Linked DNA regions of Homo sapiens: region 2 is linked to region 1. Evidence: promoter capture Hi-C in 16 types of primary human blood cells and fetal thymus (Javierre and others, 2016). All regions are on one chromosome and are shown on one strand. Each heading gives the region's core, a stretch centred on a gene start or on the middle of the fragment in contact. The rest is flanking DNA. Distances are from core to core; before and after follow the strand shown.

What was found. The method cuts DNA at HindIII sites, captures the fragments that hold promoters and counts their contacts. A CHiCAGO score of 5 or more calls a contact.
Region 2: the fragment with the promoter of SLC22A3 here is called in contact with the fragment with the promoter of SLC22A1 in region 1 in 1 of 17 cell types (total CD4 T cells); the score reaches 7.0 in total CD4 T cells.

What each region holds. Positions count from the first base shown.
Region 1 is chr6:160,119,980-160,123,655 of GRCh38, forward strand. It overlaps SLC22A1 (solute carrier family 22 member 1), which reads left to right and starts at 1,836. Exons shown (of 11, transcript NM_003057.3): 1 at 1,836-2,367. The coding sequence starts at 1,957. LOC124901452 (a long non-coding RNA gene) reads right to left here and starts at 1,716. Exons shown (of 2, transcript XR_007059842.1): 1 at 863-1,716. The HindIII fragment of the contact is 2,683 bases long and covers 746-3,428 here.
Region 2 is chr6:160,347,118-160,350,615 of GRCh38, forward strand. SLC22A3 (solute carrier family 22 member 3) reads left to right here and starts at 1,261. Exons shown (of 11, transcript NM_021977.4): 1 at 1,261-1,731. The coding sequence starts at 1,303. The HindIII fragment of the contact is 11,280 bases long and covers 1-3,498 here.

The sequences.
Region 1 (3,676 bases), core at 586-3,085:
TTACTATAAGTCATTCATTTAAATGACTCAAAGCAAAAACCTTCAGTCACTAAGAGGGAAGACCTAATTTTCCAAACAATCTAACTTTTAACCATCGCACTCCTTTTTAAGAAGTCCTTTTAAGTCTCTTATTATCCAACTTTAGCCATGCCAAATGGCCAGTTGAATTCATGGAGGGGCAGAGAATATAGTGATTTTTTTATTGTTCCTGCAACCAGTTTGCACAGAGAGAGAAACCAAAAGTCTGACTGGTAAGAACTTTTACCCTTTCGCCAGCATGTCAGGCTGCTGAGCTCCCTTCCCCTCAGCTATGGAGCCCTATTGACCCTGGAGTCCTGTTGATCTCTTGTCCTTCCCTTCTTGTGTCAGTAGCTTATTCACAAAGAAAACAAAATCTTTCATTGCATGAAAATCTTGTTCAAGTGAAAGCCAAATTTTACCCTTACATTAGTCTATTAATGTCAACCCCAATTAAAAAAAATAAAACCTTACAGAGAAATCCATCCAATCTTAATCAGTTTGATCATGAACTGAGATTGTTATAAATCTTTTATAACCTTTTACAAATTTTTTTTGTTAAACAGCATGTAAGTGCTTCAAGAAAACCTTGTTGTGCTTGTATTCCATTGTTCAACTTATGGAAAACCAAATAATATCCTTTTTAGTGTAGTCAATATGTTTACACACAGGATTCCTTTTACAAGATTAATTTTTTACAAACCTTCCATAACTTGTTTGAACCTTAAGCTTTATCTTATATAATTTAAAACAATCATTTAACCCTCTGAACTAGGCAAAAATTTACATTCCCATGCCTTCTTATATTATTTTACTAATGATACATTTTACTCTCCTTACTCACCTCACGTGTAGATCTGTTTTCAGTAGTCATCACTACATGTTATAATGGTAGCTCTTAGTAATTGTTAATTTTGGTGAAATACCCAGTAAGTTATTTTAGTTACGTACTTAGGTGCAGATGAGGTCTAACTATTTCCAGCATAGCTAGGGCAGGCCCTACCAAACTGCAAAGCAGGAAAGTTGAACAATTTTCAAAAGCCAAAGCAGTTTATGACCTTAAAGCATTTAGTCAACCTAGTTTCTGACTTGCATAATTTAGACCATGTCTATATTTTGAAGACATTTCTATTTTCATTTTACTGATAATTTAAAAGACAGCCTATTTAGCAAAGTCATACTTAAGTGAATTTGAAAATTGCTTAGACTTATTTACTTAATTTATGAACACTCTTTTACTTATAAGCCAATTTGGTAGACACAACATATAACAGTAAGTGTACATACAAGTAAACACATCTAGACATGTATACACACACACAAATGAAGAGGTGGAGCTTAAAACACCCAAATTGGGTGCAGTGTATACTGCTTGGGAGATGGATGCACCAAAATCTCACAAATCACCACTAAAGAACCTGCTCATGTAACCAAATAATACCTGTTCCCTCAAAACCTATGGGAAAAAAAAACTAAAAAAAATACTTAAATGGTATCACAGAACTAATTAGCCGAATACAGTATCTAGTACCTGGCTGTCACCCAATACTTGCCTCATACCATCACATCTAGAAAACAAGTAGATATTCTTTTTGGAAGAGCCCTGAGGGAGCTACTAGGAGGTTTGCACGGCCTGCTCTCCTGCCCTCTTCTTGCTCTGTGGCTGAACTTCAATTCTCTTCGGGCTTAGACCCCACTGACTCGCTCCCGGGCAAAGCAAACGATTTGATCAGATGGCCACGTGCATTCTTCCTTTTCCTGAAACCAGCACCATAGGGTAAAAGATTATTTCTACTTGGTTGCCTTCCAGATGTTTCACACTTGGACAGCAAACTGATTTCAAACCACTCCTTTTCAAAGATCTCTGAGGGAGACATTGCACCTGGCCACTGCAGCCCAGAGCAGGTCTGGCCACGGCCATGAGCATGCTGAGCCATCATGCCCACCGTGGATGACATTCTGGAGCAGGTTGGGGAGTCTGGCTGGTTCCAGAAGCAAGCCTTCCTCATCTTATGCCTGCTGTCGGCTGCCTTTGCGCCCATCTGTGTGGGCATCGTCTTCCTGGGTTTCACACCTGACCACCACTGCCAGAGTCCTGGGGTGGCTGAGCTGAGCCAGCGCTGTGGCTGGAGCCCTGCGGAGGAGCTGAACTATACAGTGCCAGGCCTGGGGCCCGCGGGCGAGGCCTTCCTTGGCCAGTGCAGGCGCTATGAAGTGGACTGGAACCAGAGCGCCCTCAGCTGTGTAGACCCCCTGGCTAGCCTGGCCACCAACAGGAGCCACCTGCCGCTGGGTCCCTGCCAGGATGGCTGGGTGTATGACACGCCCGGCTCTTCCATCGTCACTGAGGTAAAAAAGCCTCTGTAACATGGGAGTTCCTGGGACAGGGAGAAATATAAAGCAAATCCTATGAAGTTCAGTTCCATATCAGGAAAGAGGTAGGGGGCTATGTTTATTGTGCAGTTCGTGGGTGTCTGGCTGTGTCCCAGGCACGGGGCATTCTCTTCTCTAGTTTAATCCACCACAAACTCTGGGTCTTTGAGGAGGAAGCTGAGGCAGGAGAGAACAGCTAGCACAAGTCGGGGGCCAGGTTGCCAGGTTGCTTGAATGGGAGTTGACTGGGAGACCAGGAGCCTCTCTGCCTGCCCCACTGGCTTCTCCCAGAACTATCAACTTGCTCTGGGTCCCGCTTCCCCACCAATAGTACTGTGGGCCCCCTCCTTCTGCTCAAGAGTGATGACGATTGACCTCAATGATGGTGTTGAGGTGGCCTGGAATTGCCCTGGCTTGGAAGTGAGAATATTTGGTGGAATCCCAGCTGTGCCCCTTATTAGCTGAGCATCACTGGGTAAGTCACTGCCTCTCTAAGCCTCATTTCCTCATCAGTCAACCAGGGATGATGACGGCTGCCTCATAGGGGTGTGAGCTTCAGCTGGGATCTGTGAAAGCACTGAGCAAATCCAAACTGAGTCACACCGTGCAGTCCGATGGGGCCCATGGGATAGGGCGATGGCCTCAAAAGGGCCTTGCTTGAGTAGTTTACTTGGTTATTTGAGCATTTTGCTTTGAGAATCCTTTAGTAAAAAGTGTCACCACATTTTTTTCCCATCATGAGCCCTTTTGAAACTATTGCACGGTAACAAGTGTGGATGCTTGGTGGGTTGGAGAAGCTGTGGGCCAAAGCCCGTCAGGGGCCTTCTGTTAGTAACGAGCAGTGGCGTGGTTTTGGTGCAGGCACTGCTTCCCTGAAATAAGAGGTAACTGGGCCCTCCCTGCCTCTGGTCCTGCCCACTTGTCTGCCCCCACTACCCTCGCCCAAGCTCTCCGGACTTCTTGGGTCTCTGTTCTTCCTCTTTTCCCTTTCCTGAGTGGTATCAGCGGTGACACATTTAGGGCTATTACTGGAGGAAAGCTTAGGGTCCCTCCCCTCTGGGCCTGAGCATTGCTCTACCTGCTTGCCTGGAGCAGAGCAGGTGCCGGTGCAACTGGCTTTACGATGCTGAAGAGACATCTTGTCTCCAAGGCATCCTCCAACAATGGATGACAAGTTAGGCAGCCCACCTTCCAGGGATCTCCAACCATCTGACATTCCCACTGGGAATCTAGAAGCAGACCAGGATGAGGATGTGTTTGCTCTCTGGGACTGAGACATACTCTG
Region 2 (3,498 bases), core at 11-2,510, 230 kb after region 1:
ACAGGCCTGAGGAGTGAGTGGTGTCCCCGCCATACTGAGGTTCTGAGTCTGGGCCCAGGACATGGTTGCACCGAAAGGCAGGGCAGGAAAGGGGAGCTGGGTTGGAGGGGGACAGACTGAGTCTGGGGTCCAGCGGGCAGTTGAAACTGCTGGTGAGGACATGAGGCCAGTTTGAATCCAAGCAGCCTGGCTTCAAACTCCTTGTTCCGGAGGAGGAACCGCAAGTCCTCCCAAGGCCTTGGAGAAAAGTGAGCTAAAGGCAGAACGTGGGCCGATAACGTGGGGGCGTGGGGGGACCGCGACCCAGCCCGGGGAAGGCGTCCCAGCATGGACCCAGCAGCCTGGGCAGCCTGGGCGGGAAGTTCTGATCGCGCTCTGCCGAATTGGCAGGCGCAATAAGTAAGCGGAAAAACCAGGATTCAAACCAACCACCAACACCCTTCCCTGGCGTTCAGACCGAAGGTGGGTGGGAAGGCCCTGGCGAAGGAGGTCTGCATCAGGCCTGGCCTTGAGGCGATCCCTTCTCACCCCAAACCTCCTGGACGCTGAGCAAGCCCCTTCGCCTGTGTGGGTTGCCCGGCTGCCCTCTGGGGAAAGTTGGGTGATCAAATCCCAAGTTGTAGCTCTCGATGGGTCGAGGGCGATGGCCAGCGCTGTGCTGGGAACGGGCAGCCCTGCCCTGCCCTGCCCTGCCCTGCCCTGCCCTGCCCTGCCCTGCCCCACATGGGCGCAGGAGGCCTCCGCACGCGCAAGGGCCAAGGGCTGGAGGGGGCTCTCCCGGGCACAGGCACCGGACCCGGGGCGCGCGCGCGCGTCCTTAGTCCCCGGGCTGCACTCCGGGCCGCTGAGAGATCGGGTCCCAGAAGTTCCGGGAGTGGTCGGGTGACCCTGGAACTTTCTTCTTCTGGAGCCCGACCTGGGGCTGACTGCAGAGCAGGCTGCTGGCAGGGACCAAAAGGAGCTCCGCGCCAGGCCGGAGGCTGCGCCCGTCACTCGCGGTCCCGGCCGGGTCCCTGGCGCGTAGTCAGGCCGCACCGCCCGAGCCCCACCGCGCGCCCACCCCGGCCGGGTGCGTCCGGCTCGCGGCCGTCCCTCCCGCGACCTGTGGCCCGGGGCTGCTGCGGGCGCCCGGGGAAGAGAGGCGGGGGCCGCGGGGGGCAGGAGGAGCGGCTGCGGCCGGCACAGCGCCAGGGCGAGTGAGGCGGGTGGCGCGGGGGAGGCGGCGGAGTAAAGAGAGGCCGCCGGCTGGGTCCGCGGGTCACTCCGAGGCGCGGGCTGCGGGCGGCGGGCGGCGGGCGCACCATGCCCTCCTTCGACGAGGCGCTGCAGCGGGTGGGCGAGTTCGGGCGCTTCCAGAGGCGCGTGTTTTTGCTGCTGTGCCTGACGGGCGTCACCTTCGCCTTCCTCTTCGTCGGCGTGGTCTTCCTGGGCACGCAGCCCGACCACTACTGGTGCCGCGGGCCAAGTGCCGCGGCGCTGGCCGAGCGCTGCGGCTGGAGCCCGGAGGAGGAGTGGAACCGCACGGCGCCCGCCTCCCGCGGCCCAGAGCCCCCCGAGCGCCGCGGCCGCTGCCAGCGCTACCTCCTGGAGGCGGCCAACGACAGCGCCTCCGCCACTAGCGCTCTCAGCTGCGCGGACCCACTCGCCGCCTTCCCCAACCGCTCGGCTCCCCTTGTGCCGTGCCGCGGCGGCTGGCGCTACGCCCAGGCCCACTCCACCATCGTCAGCGAGGTAAGGGCGCCCCGGCCCTTTGGAAGCCGGCGGGAGAGGACGATGCTGGCTCCCAGGCGGACAAGCCGCGTGTGAGACGCTGGCCGCCAGGGGAGGTCGGTGGAGACGGGGACCGGTCGGCTACCTCTGGGGACAGACAGGATTCAGCGCACCCTTGGAAGTGCCGCGTCGTAAATGCTGGGAAAAGCCTTTCGTTATCTGCCTGAGCCCGTGAGTTAATGCACAGATACTTTGGTTTCGGGTGTGAACAAAAACTTTCTTCGAAGCCGAGTTGTAAACGCCTGGCGCACGCCTGCTCAGGAGTCAAAGACCCAGCACCGCGTTCCTTATCTTTGAGGTGTGCGGGCGCCGTCATTGGAAATTATGGTTAGGTGCGCGATAGGGAACTTCAGTCTCTGGGGTGAGCGACGTTGGCAGTTCCGGATTCGCTTATGGTCTCCAGGGTCAAAGGAAAGGGCGAACCAACGTTTGAAGGCAGCAGCAGCTTTTTTCCAGTTGCCCAAATGGTTACTCAAAATGCAAGGGGACAAAGGTCGAGGCTTTCCCGGGGAATGGTTTTGGTAAAATTGCTTTGGGGCAAAGAGCAACATCTGGGATAAGTTGGGAAAACTGAAGTATTGGATAAATTTTAGTTTTTTTTTCTGGTAATAAATTTTAGGAACATAGCGGGAGGGCCACAGCCTTCCAACGCAAATCCCCAACCCATTTACAGGCGGAGGCTGCTGCCGGCGGGTGGGCGGGGGCGATCCCCACATTTTGGGCAGTCAGTGCATTTGGAAGTTAGGGGAGCTTCCTTCACCCTTGCCCTCAGTAATCTGTTTCTGCATCCTTGCTGAAATGGAAGATTGCCTCTCTGTGAGGTCCAGATATAGAGCAGAGTCACTTTGTAATAATCGGAACTCAGAAACGGCCTCAATTGAGCATGGGTTGCAGAGATGAGCAGTTTTACTGAGCTTTGTCTACAATCACAGCTTAAGTTAATTTTAAAAAAAGATTGAATGTGATCAGGTACATTAGGAAAAAAGGTTTGTCTTTTTTTTGTGATAAACTTTAAAAAATCACCTACTTGAAGAGTGGGGAAAACACTGGATGAGGAGGTAGGAGCGCCCTTTCTGCCGCTGTTGCTGTTGGTCTGGTGAGCTTATCTCGCTGCAGTTGGGAGTGTCGGTGGTTGCAATTGTACATGTTTTATACGCCATGTGCTGGTGTGTTCGCACAGTGGATGGCTCTATGCTATGTGCTCCAGGGATAAAACCCATGGCAGGACAGCCAGGCGATGTGTGTATGTGTTTGGGATCTTTCTGTAACGCCGTGTGCTGCTGTGTTCGCACAGTGGATGGCTCTATGCTAAGTGCTCCAGGGATAAAACCCCCTGGCAGGACAGCCAGGCAATGTGTATGTGTGTTCAGGGTGTTTCTATAATGCCACATGCAAGTGTGTTCGCACACTGAGTGGCTCTATGCTGAGTGATCTCAGGATAAACCCCCCTGGCAAGACAGCCAGGCAATACATATGTGTGTTGGGATCTTTAATTTCTACTTAATCCATGGTAAGGCTGGGGACTGCTTTATAATTGGTGATGGTCTGGTTAGAGATTTCACAGTTGAAAGGACAGGGCATGGACTTGGATGAGAGAGGGCATTATCTCTGTGAGTCGCATCTGTTAGGTGGCTTCTTCCACTCCACTCAGCAGCGCTGCCTAATGCTTACTTCCCAAGTGAACCAGAGGACCCACATGGAGGGCAGACAGCTGATTTTTGGAGACAT